3 separate regions of the Homo sapiens genome follow, and regions 1 and 3 are each linked to region 2. Evidence: promoter capture Hi-C in 16 types of primary human blood cells and fetal thymus (Javierre and others, 2016). All regions are on one chromosome and are shown on one strand. Each heading gives the region's core, a stretch centred on a gene start or on the middle of the fragment in contact. The rest is flanking DNA. Distances are from core to core; before and after follow the strand shown. Region 1 overlaps ZNF346 (zinc finger protein 346). Region 2 holds the start of MXD3 (MAX dimerization protein 3). Region 3 holds the start of FAM193B (family with sequence similarity 193 member B).

Region 1 (3,649 bases), core at 776-3,275, 250 kb after region 2:
CCTAAGAGTCCCCCAAAGTAAAAAACATATTCACAGGTAAAGAGGATGATCTGCTACAGTGTGAGAGAGGAGACTCCAGGCAGAGCAGAGAGAACTAAGGACATTTTTTACACCAATACTCTGTGTTTCTACCACCTTTAAATCATTCAGCTCAATGAGCAAAGCAAAATCAATGACCAAAGTCAAAGCAATCATTTCGGCAGCTTGCCTGCCTGAAACTCAGTTTCCTTGTCTGTAAAATGGGAATTCTTCTACCTATCTCAGAAGGTTATGCTGGGGCCAGGTGCAGTGGCTCATGCCTGTAATCCCAGCACTTTGGGAGGCCGAGGCAGATGGATCACTTGAGCTCAGGAGTTTGAGACCAGCCTGGCCAATATGGTGAAACCCCATCTCTACTAAAAAAAAAAAAAACGTTATGTTGTGGCACACTGCTCATACCACACGTTTCCCTTCGGAGAGGAAGGGACAGAACCATGTGGGCCCTCCAGGCCAGGCCCTATTCTCTTCATATCAGTGGTGCCATAGCCTACTTCTGAGCCTGACGCCTTGGGAAGAGCATGCTGTGAGCCAGACAGGCTTCAGTTTGAATCATGACCTTGCTTCATTCACATCACCACTTTGAATGCTGGTTGTCTATATGTATAAAATGGGAATAATTATCTCTTCCTCTCAGGGTTGGAAGGATTACCTGAGAAAATCTGCTTGACATATGGCCTGCAACAGAAGAGGGGCTCAATGAATGTTAGTCACTTCCAAGATTACCATGAACAGGTAACTCTCTGTTCACCTGGTTCCTTCAAAACCCTTATCACAATCTGTGATTATTGGTTGTTTACTTGCTTAGTCTGTTTCCTCCCACCAGGCTGTAAGGTCAGGAGAGCAGAGACTGGGTCTGTCTTGGCCATCATTCAGAAGATGCTCAATATATATTTGATTAAGGAATGAGAGGGCCTGGTCATATTTGATAATGACCTATAGAGGGAACTCCTGCCAGAAAAGGAGAGGGTCTCCAGGCCAGTGGAAAAGCACTTCCCCAGTCAGAGTGCTACAGACTAGGACAGCCAGGTGTTCTTAGGGTCCCACCAAGGAAATCATGTATGCTTCTCTATTAAACCCTTGAGTCCAACAGGTCTAAAGGCTGGGCAGAAGCTGGTGGAGAAATACATATAGAGGAGACACTTGTTCCTGTTACATGATTCATCTTCTGTTCACTGAAAAAAGACTGCCAGGATTCCATTTCAGCCGAGAACTACCTGGCTTTGTTCTGATGCAGAAGTCCTGAGCTCCTGCTATGGATCCTAGAATTTCAAAAAATGGTTACTTACTGGTTCTTGTGTTTGAAGCCGCTGACATGAGCTTGGTACTGTTCTATGGAGTTCAGCACTATCTTACATGTTTTGCAGGGGTAGCCCTTTCCAGCTGAAACACATCAAAATCAAGATCTTAGTAATCCAGAAAGAAGGAACCTGAAGACCGTTGCTTTTCAGAGTGTACAAATGCCCTTCTAAGGACGGACAGGTGAGGCGAGGTGAGGTTGCTGGCCCTGATGAGAACCCAGAGGCCACAGTGCTAAGGAGGCACAGACTGTGTGCCTATGTGCTTCCTGGGGTTGGGAAGATCCTCATTCCTGTGTCCCTCGTTCCAGCGTAGAGCCTGGCCCAGACTAGCTGTCTGCTGAGTGATAAAAGAATGACAGAACAGAGAGGTGACATTTGGTCTGTATTTCTACCTTGACTGTGCTAAGTGGCCTCATTAAGGACGTCCTTCACTGAGAGATCTCTGGGAAGGTGCCACTCTCCTAGGGCTTGCGGTAACAGTAATTAGTGAGAACGCTGGTTATGATAATCAATCTGTCTTTCTACCCTGGGAATCACAGACCCTATCTCAGGGCTGCTCCAATGACAAAGTGGCTTTTCCCACATGGTCTGGTAGTGAGGGAGGAGCCAGGATAGGGAACTGAACTGCTGGTTCTGCTTTCAAGTGATCTTAGCTAGATCCTTTCCTTTCTTCTGATCCTTTTCTTTTCTTTTTTTGAGACGGAGTCTCGCTCTGTGGCCAGGCTGGAGTGCAGTGGCGCGATCTTGGCTCACTGCAACCTGTGCCTCCCGGGTTCGAGGGATTCTCCTGCCTCAGCCTCCCAAGTAGCTGGAACTACAGGCATGTGCCACCACACCCAGCTAATTTTTGTATTTTTGGTAGAGACAGTGTTTTATCATGTCGGCCATGATGGTCTCTCTCTCTTGACCTCATGATCCATCCGTCTAGGCCTCCCAAAGCGCTGGGATTATAGGCGTGAGCTACCGCACCCGGCCTGATCCTTAGCTTTTCTTACCCTCAAACCAATTACACCGCAACTTGTTTTTTTTTGAGACAGTCTTGCTCTGTCGTCCAGGCTGGAGTGCAGTGGTGCGATCTTGGCTCACGGCAAGCTCCGCCTCCCGGGTTCACGCCATTCTCCTCCCTCAGCCTCCTGAGTAACTGGGACTACAGGCGCCTGCCACCACACCTAGCTAATTTTTTTTGTATTTTTAGTAGAGATGGGGTTTCACTGTGTTAGCCAGGATGGTCTTGATCTCCTGACTTCGTGATCCACCCGCCTCGGCCTCCCAAAGTGCTGGGATTACAGGCGTAAGCCACCACCCCAGCCCACAACTTATTTATTTATTTAGAGATGGAGTTTTGCTCTTGTTGCCCAGGCTGGAGTGCAATGGCGTGATCTCTGCTCCCTGCAACCTCTGCCTCCCAGGTTCAAGCGATTCTCCTGCCTCAGCCTCCCAAGTAGCTGGGACTACTGGTGCGTGCCACCATGCCTAATTTTTCTATTTTTAGTACAGACAGGGTTTCACTATGTTGGCCAGGCTGGTCTCAAACTCCTGACCTCAGGTGATCTGCCCGCCTTGGTCTCCTCCCAAAGTGCTGGGATTACAGGTGTTGAGCTACTGTGCCCAGCCCAACTTATTTTTGATTTTTTTGAGATGGAGTCTCATTCTGTCACCCAGGCTGGAGTGCAGTGGAGGCACCTCCGCCTCCTGGGTTCAGGCAATTCTCCTGCTTCAGCCTCTCGAGTAGCTGGCATTACAGGCGTGCACCACCACGCCCGGCTAATTTTTGTAGTTTTAGTAGAGATGGGGTTTCACCATGTTGGCCAGGCTGGTCTCAAACTCCTGACCTCATGATCCACCCACCTCGACCTCCTAAAGTGCTGGGATTATAGGCGTGAGCCGCCGTGCCTGGCCACACCTGGGTAATTTTTGTATTTTCTTCTTTTTGTAGAGGTGGGGTTGTGCCATGTTGCCCAGGCTCCAAACCTCCTCACGCTGGAACCAGGATGATCCGCCCGTAAAGCTCAAACTGGCAGCGGCTTCCCAGTCCCAGTGCTCTCAGGGTGAAGGCCCGCTGCCCTAACATGACCCACAAAGCCATGCGTGGACACCTGCTCATGTCCTCCGCGTCACTACGTCCCATACTATCCTACTTGCCCTCTGGGGTGCCTTTCTTGATCCCTGCTCCCCCATCTTATCTCCTCTCATTTTATGTGCCCACAGTCTTGCATTTGTCTTTTTTTCTGAAGTTTGTCACAGTTGTAACTGTTTGCTCAATGCCTGTCTTCTCTGCTAGACTGTAAGCTCCATAAGAACACAGACAATAC
Region 2 (3,453 bases), core at 305-2,804:
AAAAATACAAAAATTAGCTGGGTGTGGTGGTGGGCGCTTGTAGTCTCAGCTACTTGGGAGGCTGAGGCAGGAGAATTGCTTGAACCCGGGAGGCGGAGGTTGCAGTGAGTCGAGACTGAGCCATTGCGCTTCAGCCTGGGCAACAGAGCAAGACTCAAAAAAAAAAAAAAGATTTTTCCCAAGGAACTGAGGCCTGACTGACATGTGCTTGTGTTTACCAGGACTGTCTCTTTACAGAGCATCTATCCCTCCCACCTTCCCTCCCCTCTCTATTTTGGGATTACTGGAGTCACAGACTCAGCCCGTGGCTGGCAGCAATGCTCCACCCTGCTACAGCTGCGTTCATCTTCCTGTCCCCAGATGTGGCCCCACCTGCTGGTGCTGAGGCTAGAAGTCATCACAGCCACTCCTTCGGCCGGCTAGGAGAGTCAGGTGCAAGAAGGGTTTATGGACTCTGAGTAAGGCAAGCAGGGGCTGCCTGGGAGGCAAACGCCGCGGTCTGGTTGCACTGGCCTTTGAGATGGGCGGCTCCTTCATGCCATGGGCACCGCAGAGGCATTGGCTCTGATCCTTCAACGCTGTCGCAGGGCTCCTGAGGCTTAGAGACGGAGGTCACCTCCTGAGTCATACACAGCTGAGACATCAGTGACAGGAGAGGACCCCAACTGCGTGGATACCAGAGCCCAAGGCCCCGGAAAAGGCCATTTCGCGTGCCTCCAGGGTATGGCCTGCCTGAGGAAGCTGTTACCCCACTGACGTTTTCGTAGCAACAACAGCTTCCTCACAGAAGAGGAGGGGGGCCGAGATATTATTCCCATTCGACACAGTAGGAAGCTGGGGCCCACGGGGGCCTTCGGGGGCAGATGGCAGGCAGGCTTGGGGACAGACCCCGGAGGGCAGGAGCCGGGTCCGCCGCCCCTCCGCCGGCGCCTGCGCATTGAGGCCCAGCTCCCCTCTCAACCCCGCCCCATCGCTTGGGTTTTCAAATTTGAAACCTGCTTCTTTTCCCGCCCGAACGTGTGGATCAGCGGCGGGAGAGGGCGGGGCAGAGCGCCAGCCAATAGGGCATCAGAGGCTCCCCGACCCCGCCCCGAGGATGACAACAGCGATCCTTGAGAAGCCATGTGCGAATGGGCGAGCGGCGGCCGGAGGCCCCGCCCCCGCGGCACCCACGTGCAGCGGCTGGGCCCGGCGCTTTCAGGGGACCACCAGGCCCCCAGAGCGCCGTGCTATGTTGGGGGCTAGTCACTAGCACGGGGCTGGAAGCTGAGATCAAAGACGCCAATGAGCCGGCGTGGGTGGATGAGTGAGGCGGGCAAGAAGCAGCACCGGTTAGCCTGAGGGTTCGCTCCAGGGCCAGGCCTGGAGCCAGCGCCCTTACCTGCCCCTGGAAAGTCTGAGACCACTCGGGGCGGGGCGGCTGCCGGAGGGTGGGCTGCGGCTCCGTGGCGGGTTCCAGAGGGGCGGAGCCAAGGGCTGGGCGTTCCCGCGGGCGGGGCGTCCCGGGGGCGGGGCGGGCCCCTGTGTTTGTTGCACCGTGTCAGTTACTTTGTAACAAAAGTGCTGCAGCCGCTTGCTCCGGCCGGCACCCTAGGCCGGCCCGCCGCCAGCTGTCGCCGACATGGAACCCTTGGCCAGCAACATCCAGGTCCTGCTGCAGGCGGCCGAGTTCCTGGAGCGCCGTGAGAGAGGTGAGGAAGGACCCTTGGCTGAATTCCGGGCGGCGACCTCGCTGACACGGGCCTGGACTGGACCTGGCTCCCAGCTTGAAGGATGCACCGCCCTAGGACAGTAATCCCGGGGCGCCTCGCCCTCAACTCGAGAGGAGTCCCGGGGCGGTAGAGCAGGGACGGGTGGGGGAAATGGTCCTGGCGCCAAAAGCCTTTCCTTGACCGTGCTGTGCCTGGGGCTGCCGCTGGGACCAGGTCCAGCCCCAGCCTGACGCGGGCGGGGACTCTCTCTGGCAGAGGCCGAGCATGGTTATGCGTCCCTGTGCCCGCATCGCAGTCCAGGCCCCATCCACAGGAGGAAGAAGCGACCCCCCCAGGCTCCTGGCGCGCAGGACAGCGGGCGGTGAGGAGGCCGGGGGCGGCGGGAGTGGGGGTGGGGGTGGGCGCCGCCCCTGGTCGGGCCCTCCTCTGCCCACTTGTTGCTTGCATCTTTTGGGCCAGGTGTCCCGCTCCAGGAAGCGTTCAGACCCCTCCTGCCATCTCCCCACTCTCCAAACACACTCACACCTTTCTATTCATTCAAGGACTATTTCTTGAGCACCTCTAGATGTGCCGGGAACTGCCAACAGCAGTTGGGGTCCCGCTTCCACTCGCACTCCCGCACCCCACACATCAGGCCACTCACCTCCCCCGCTGGCTTCCTCCTCTTCTCTCCTCTCCCCAGCCCTTTGCATATGCTGTTCCCTCCTATTTGAATGCCCCTCCCTCCAGTACCGGCTTGGGAAACATCTGTTTCCGCAGTTAGCTGTCACCTCTGGGAGGTCCTTTCTGGCCAGCTGGCAGGCGCCCTTGTTAGGGCCCTCATACCCACCTGGGCAGGCTTCTGTTAAGCATTTGGCTCCGTGTGTCTTTGACTCCCCTCGCCCTGCCAGGGGACTCTGGTGTCTGAGGCCAGCATGAGCTCTCCACAGGGGACTTGTTTGGGGCAGACATCTGTAGTGGCTCTTGAGCCACTGGGGGCCCTGGGATTGGGGCATGGGCAGTAGCTGATTCCCCTTCACCTCATCCTCTCTGGCATTGGCAGGTCAGTGCACAATGAACTGGAGAAGCGCAGGTGAGTCCCAGTCCTGCCCTGACAGCGCCAGCCCCCAGGGGCCACTGCCCTCTGGCCTTCCCTCCCCTGCCATTCCTGTGGCCGGCAAGGTGGGGCTGGCACTGCCCTCCAGACCTCTTCCCCACAGGAGGGCCCAGTTGAAGCGGTGCCTGGAGCGGCTGAAGCAGCAGATGCCCCTGGGGGCCGACTGTGCCCGGTACACCACGCTGAGCCTGCTGCGCCGTGCCAGGATGCACATCCAGGTGAGGCCCCCCACTGCGCCCGGACTGGCTTGCCCTGGTGTATGGAGGGCTGTGCTATGGAGGGGCTGGTGGGACTGGGGAACGAGACCTGAGGTCAGAGCTCAAGAACTGTGTGACTTAGGACAGCTCTCTGAGCTTTTACTTTCCAGATCCATTAAATGGGAAGAAAAGCAGACAATAACTCAGAGGGTTGTTGAGGCTTAAATGAGTTCACTCTATAAATGTTCACTGTTGCTGTTACAGCTGTTATCACTTAGATCACAGCTGTGAGACCTTGGGCAGGTTACTTAGCCTGTCTGGACTAACCTTCCCTCCTGTTTGAGGGGAGGGGATGGCTGTTGAATTCTGTGATGGGATGTATGTGGGGGTCCTTGGGACTGTAGAGGGTTGGTCCTTGCTCTCCCCCTCTCACCTTCAAGGCCTCCTG
Region 3 (3,823 bases), core at 818-3,317, 240 kb before region 2:
CTCAGGCCGTCCACGAGCCCAGGAGTTCCAACAAAATGATGTACAGCAACCTTTTCCAGGCCTTTATGTTGCCTCAATATTTCTCACCTGCAAAATGGGAATGATCCGTACCTGCCTCGCTGTGCTGTCGGAAGGAGTCAGACGATGGGTGTGAAAGTATTGTAACACTATAGAAATTAATTCACTCATCCATTTAACAGGCAATTATTAAGTGCTAGGGTGGTGCAGCGCGATTACCACCGCATTACACGCGTTCCTCCAGCAGGTTGCATCCTTCCCGTCCCGCGTAGGGGGGGAAGGGCGTCTCCCCACCAAGTTTTTCTCCCAGCGAACTCCGGGTGGTGACCTTATTCAAAATGGCGCAGGCGGCCTCGGGGGCTAGTGCGGCGGCGCGGACTCCGCGTGCCCTCTGACCTGTTGGCAGCAGGCGGAGGGGGGGAACCGGGCGCCGCCATATTGGCTGTTGTCCTGTGAGGGGAGCGGTAGCGGCGGCGGCGGCGGCGGCGGCGGCGGCGGCGGCGGCGGCGTGTGGAGCGAGGGAGCGGCGCGAGCGGCGGCATGACGCGGAGGCGGAGCAGGCCGAGCGGCGGTGCGGGCAGGCGCGAGCGGGCTCGGGCCGCGGGGCCGCAGAAGCCCCAGGCGCCCGAGCCCCCGCCGCCGCCAAGCCTGGAGGCGGGAGCGGGTGCAGGCCCTCCGGAGGCGCCGGCGGAGCCCGACCACGACGGCCCCAGGGAGGATGACGAACCCAACCTGGTGCCCGGCCCGCAGGTAGGAGCGAGCGGGGAGACTTCGGCGGCTCGGGCGCTTTCACCTTCCCCGAGCGGGAGCGGGAGTGGGGCGGGGTTGGGGATGGGCCATCCTGCCGCGGCTGGGGTAGCAGCCTTCCCCCGGGTCCGGCGCCGAAGCTTTCTCCCCCGGGGCGGGAATGGAGGCTGGACCCCTCTCCCCAAAGCCGAGGCTCGGTCCGCGCTCCTGCGACTAGGCTGAAGCTGCTCCCCTCTCCCCGCCGCCTCCGGGCGTTCCGGCCGTACACCCACACTGGGACTGGGACTGGGACTGGGCTGTGATCCCGAGGCCGCAGCTCCGCTCTCGGCCCGCCACCTCCCCCGGGCCCACCTGCTCCCTCAGCCACAGGCCATCTCGGGGCTCTGGGACTGGACGACTGCAGCCTCTTCCCTCTGCCCCCGGGAACGGCTCCACTCCGTCCCCTGCAGCGCCTGCAGCCGCGGCCCCCTCAGCAGCTGTGTCTCCTGGCGCCTCCTCGCCATACCCAGCAGAGCAGTTGGAGCAGACAGCCAGGCTGCCCGGAGGAGTTTTTGGTGGGGTTTCTGCACTGAGGTGGAAACCCAGCAGAACCTGCCCTTCTTCCCTCCCCTGCTCCGCAAGGCAGCCCACCCCGACCTTGAGATCCCAGGTTTGGAGAATCCTGCTGAGAGCGAACAGTAGGAGGATTCCCCAAAGCTTCCAGCTTGCCACCTGGAAGAAGGTCACTTTCTTTTGAGCAAAGGAGATAACGGGAGGTACCCTGCCAAAGTTCACTGAGAGGCGGGGGTGACATGGGCCACGGTTGCTCTGGGAGGGTTGTGGCACTCGGGGCTGGGTGGCTCTCCCTAAGCTTGCTCTGACAAAAGAGTTTTGAGTTGGTCTTTTGGCTGAGCCTGCCCAGGAAGGCAGGCTCCTGCAGGAGTCTTGGAGGGTCGGATGCGGCGCCGGATGAGGATGAGGCGTGGCGGAAGATGCGTTTGGCTCTGCAGACACTGCATCGGGCAGCAGGGGACTCTGGGAGGCTGGTGCAGCCAGAAGGCATGGCTCTTGACAGCCTTCTAGTAGAATCTCTGGAATTGTGCATGTGAGTGGGGTTGCCGTTTGGGGTACCTTCCCACAAAGCCTCCCCTGACCTCCCCAGTTGCGTCAGGTGCCCTCTCTGTGCCCACAGCCCTCTGTGCCTCCCTCTGGTAGCACTCCCCTTTCTGTGATGAAACATTGTGTTGATATGTCTGTTGCCTGCCCTGGACTGTGAACTCCACAGGGACACAGGCTATGCCATCTTTCTCTGATCTTCCACGCCTCGCCCAGGGCCTTGCTAACACAGAATAAAAATAACTAGGTGAATGAGAGAGAAAATGAATCGGTCCAGAACCCGTGCTTATTGTAACCCAGTTTTCATGCTGATTTCCTTTGTGTCTCAGATCACAATAAGGTTTTTAATTAATGAAAATGTCAGCACTTACTGAGTGTCAGAAGCTCCACCTTCATCCGCATCCCCATCTCCTATCCTAGGCTGACACTTCCGTAGGAGACTCCCCAGGTTGGACCCCCAACCCCTACTGGGTCTAGCTTCCAACCCCAAAGCTGCTTCCCCCACCAGCCTACTCTGGGACCCCCGTGGGAGTGCTGTTATCCAAAAAGGGAGAGTGGGAGAAGGGAGAGCTGGAAAGCTGTTGTCTTCTCTTCTTCCCATTCAGCAGACCATAGAATACTTCAGGGTCTCTGCCACATAGAGATGCCAAAAAGCTTGGATGATGGCTCAACCATTCAGTTTTTATTAAGGACACAACTTTGCCAAGAGCTCTAAGCTTCATCAATTTCTTTGACATCTAGGTTCCTACCATGTTCTTACCTACTCCACTACTTGACCTGCTGATTCATTTATTTGTGCCAGGCACTTTACATACCTTACTTCTAATCTTCCCACCTCACCTGTATTTCTCCGCAGCGTTTAGCACAAATATGATGAATTGACCATTGATGTGATTATTTGTTTTTATTTGTGAACTCTGCGAGTTCAGGAGCCATGTCAGTCACCATTGTACCCCTGTGCCTGGTGGTTAACAAATATTGATCAACAAACTGGAGGATATAATTATCATTACTCCATTTTTCAGATGAAGAAACAGAAACTCAGAGCAACTAAACATTTGCCCAAATGACTCCAACTGTAGGTGTCAGACAAAAGAAAAGAAAAGGACTTTTAGGTACTTTGGGGGATTTTCAACAAGGCATTTTTTTTTAAACTATAGCCCCAAAGAAGGGAAACAAACTGGTAAATTCGGTTCTAGTTATGCCCCACTTTGACCGGGGGTGGGGTCTGGAAGCAGGCTTTTGTGCCCTGGTGCAAAGCACCTAGTGTAAGGGTAGGGTTCAGTCATTGCTCTGCCTACAAGCGTGTTTTTGGTGAGGAACTCTGGCTCCCATTGCCACTCATAACCCTGTCTTACATCTACAGAGTGGATAAGGAAGATGAAACTCAGTGTCATATACCAAACTGAATCCAAAGGTGGCAAATAAGACCACTTCCAGTCCACAGGCTTGTTGTAATGCCCCAGCTCACATATTGTTTTGTTTCTGTTTTTATTTTCATTTGAGCCAATATTTTAAAGATCAAAAGGTTTCCCACACATTTGGATTTGGGGCTCTTTTTTAAACTAAAGATATGGTGATGCTGGGTCCACTTTTCCACAAGGCAGTAATCAGTAGTCTCTGAGTAGCATTTGGCCCTTTTAGACAGCGTATGCTCCTTAGGCATCTTTGGTTCTTTCCAGGCCCCTTCACTCATTGGCATAACCTGTACACATTTAAAGCAGGACCTTGAGTTTAATTGGGATCCCAAATGGCTTTCAATTGTTTCAGGCCACTAAACCACATTGATCTGTTTCCTAACAACCCAAATCCTCGTTTATAGCACAAGAAGGCTGAAACAGTTACTACCTTATTAGCAAAGGAAAACAAAACAAACAAAAAAAAAAATAAAGAACAACTGAAAAAGCAATTGTAGGAGGCAGTGGGGAATAGTGTTTAGAGACTTGGATTGAATTCCCAGCTT

The links. Contacts are between HindIII fragments. The CHiCAGO score rates a contact against its expected background, and 5 or more counts as called.
Region 1: a contact is called between a fragment that was not itself captured here and the fragment with the promoter of MXD3 in region 2, in 1 of 17 cell types (megakaryocytes). The highest score is 5.6, in megakaryocytes.
Region 3: a fragment that was not itself captured here is called in contact with the fragment with the promoter of MXD3 in region 2 in 11 of 17 cell types (total CD8 T cells, monocytes, naive CD4 T cells and 8 more); the score reaches 10.6 in total CD8 T cells.

The regions. Positions count from the first base shown.
Region 1 is chr5:177,059,828-177,063,476 of GRCh38, reverse strand. ZNF346 (zinc finger protein 346) reads right to left here. Exons shown (of 7, transcript NM_012279.4): 6 at 1,326-1,419. Among named protein-coding and RNA genes, the nearest start is that of FGFR4, 25 kb to the left of the region's middle. RefSeq lists an enhancer at 593-1,792. The HindIII fragment of the contact is 5,627 bases long and covers 1-3,649 here.
Region 2 is chr5:177,309,999-177,313,451 of GRCh38, reverse strand. MXD3 (MAX dimerization protein 3) reads left to right here and starts at 1,554. Exons shown (of 6, transcript NM_031300.4): 1 at 1,554-1,691; 2 at 1,968-2,073; 3 at 2,755-2,784; 4 at 2,912-3,026. The coding sequence starts at 1,622. RefSeq lists enhancers at 420-479, 2,130-2,329, 2,587-3,453 and silencers at 700-1,269, 1,400-1,579. The HindIII fragment of the contact is 10,591 bases long and covers 1-3,453 here.
Region 3 is chr5:177,551,194-177,555,016 of GRCh38, reverse strand. It overlaps FAM193B (family with sequence similarity 193 member B), which reads left to right and starts at 454. Exons shown (of 9, transcript NM_001190946.3): 1 at 454-768. The coding sequence starts at 559. It overlaps FAM193B-DT (FAM193B divergent transcript), which reads right to left and starts at 389. Exons shown (of 3, transcript XR_941274.3): 1 at 88-389. RefSeq lists enhancers at 196-345, 366-525, 252-755 and silencers at 636-845, 1,176-1,285. The HindIII fragment of the contact is 899 bases long and covers 1,618-2,516 here.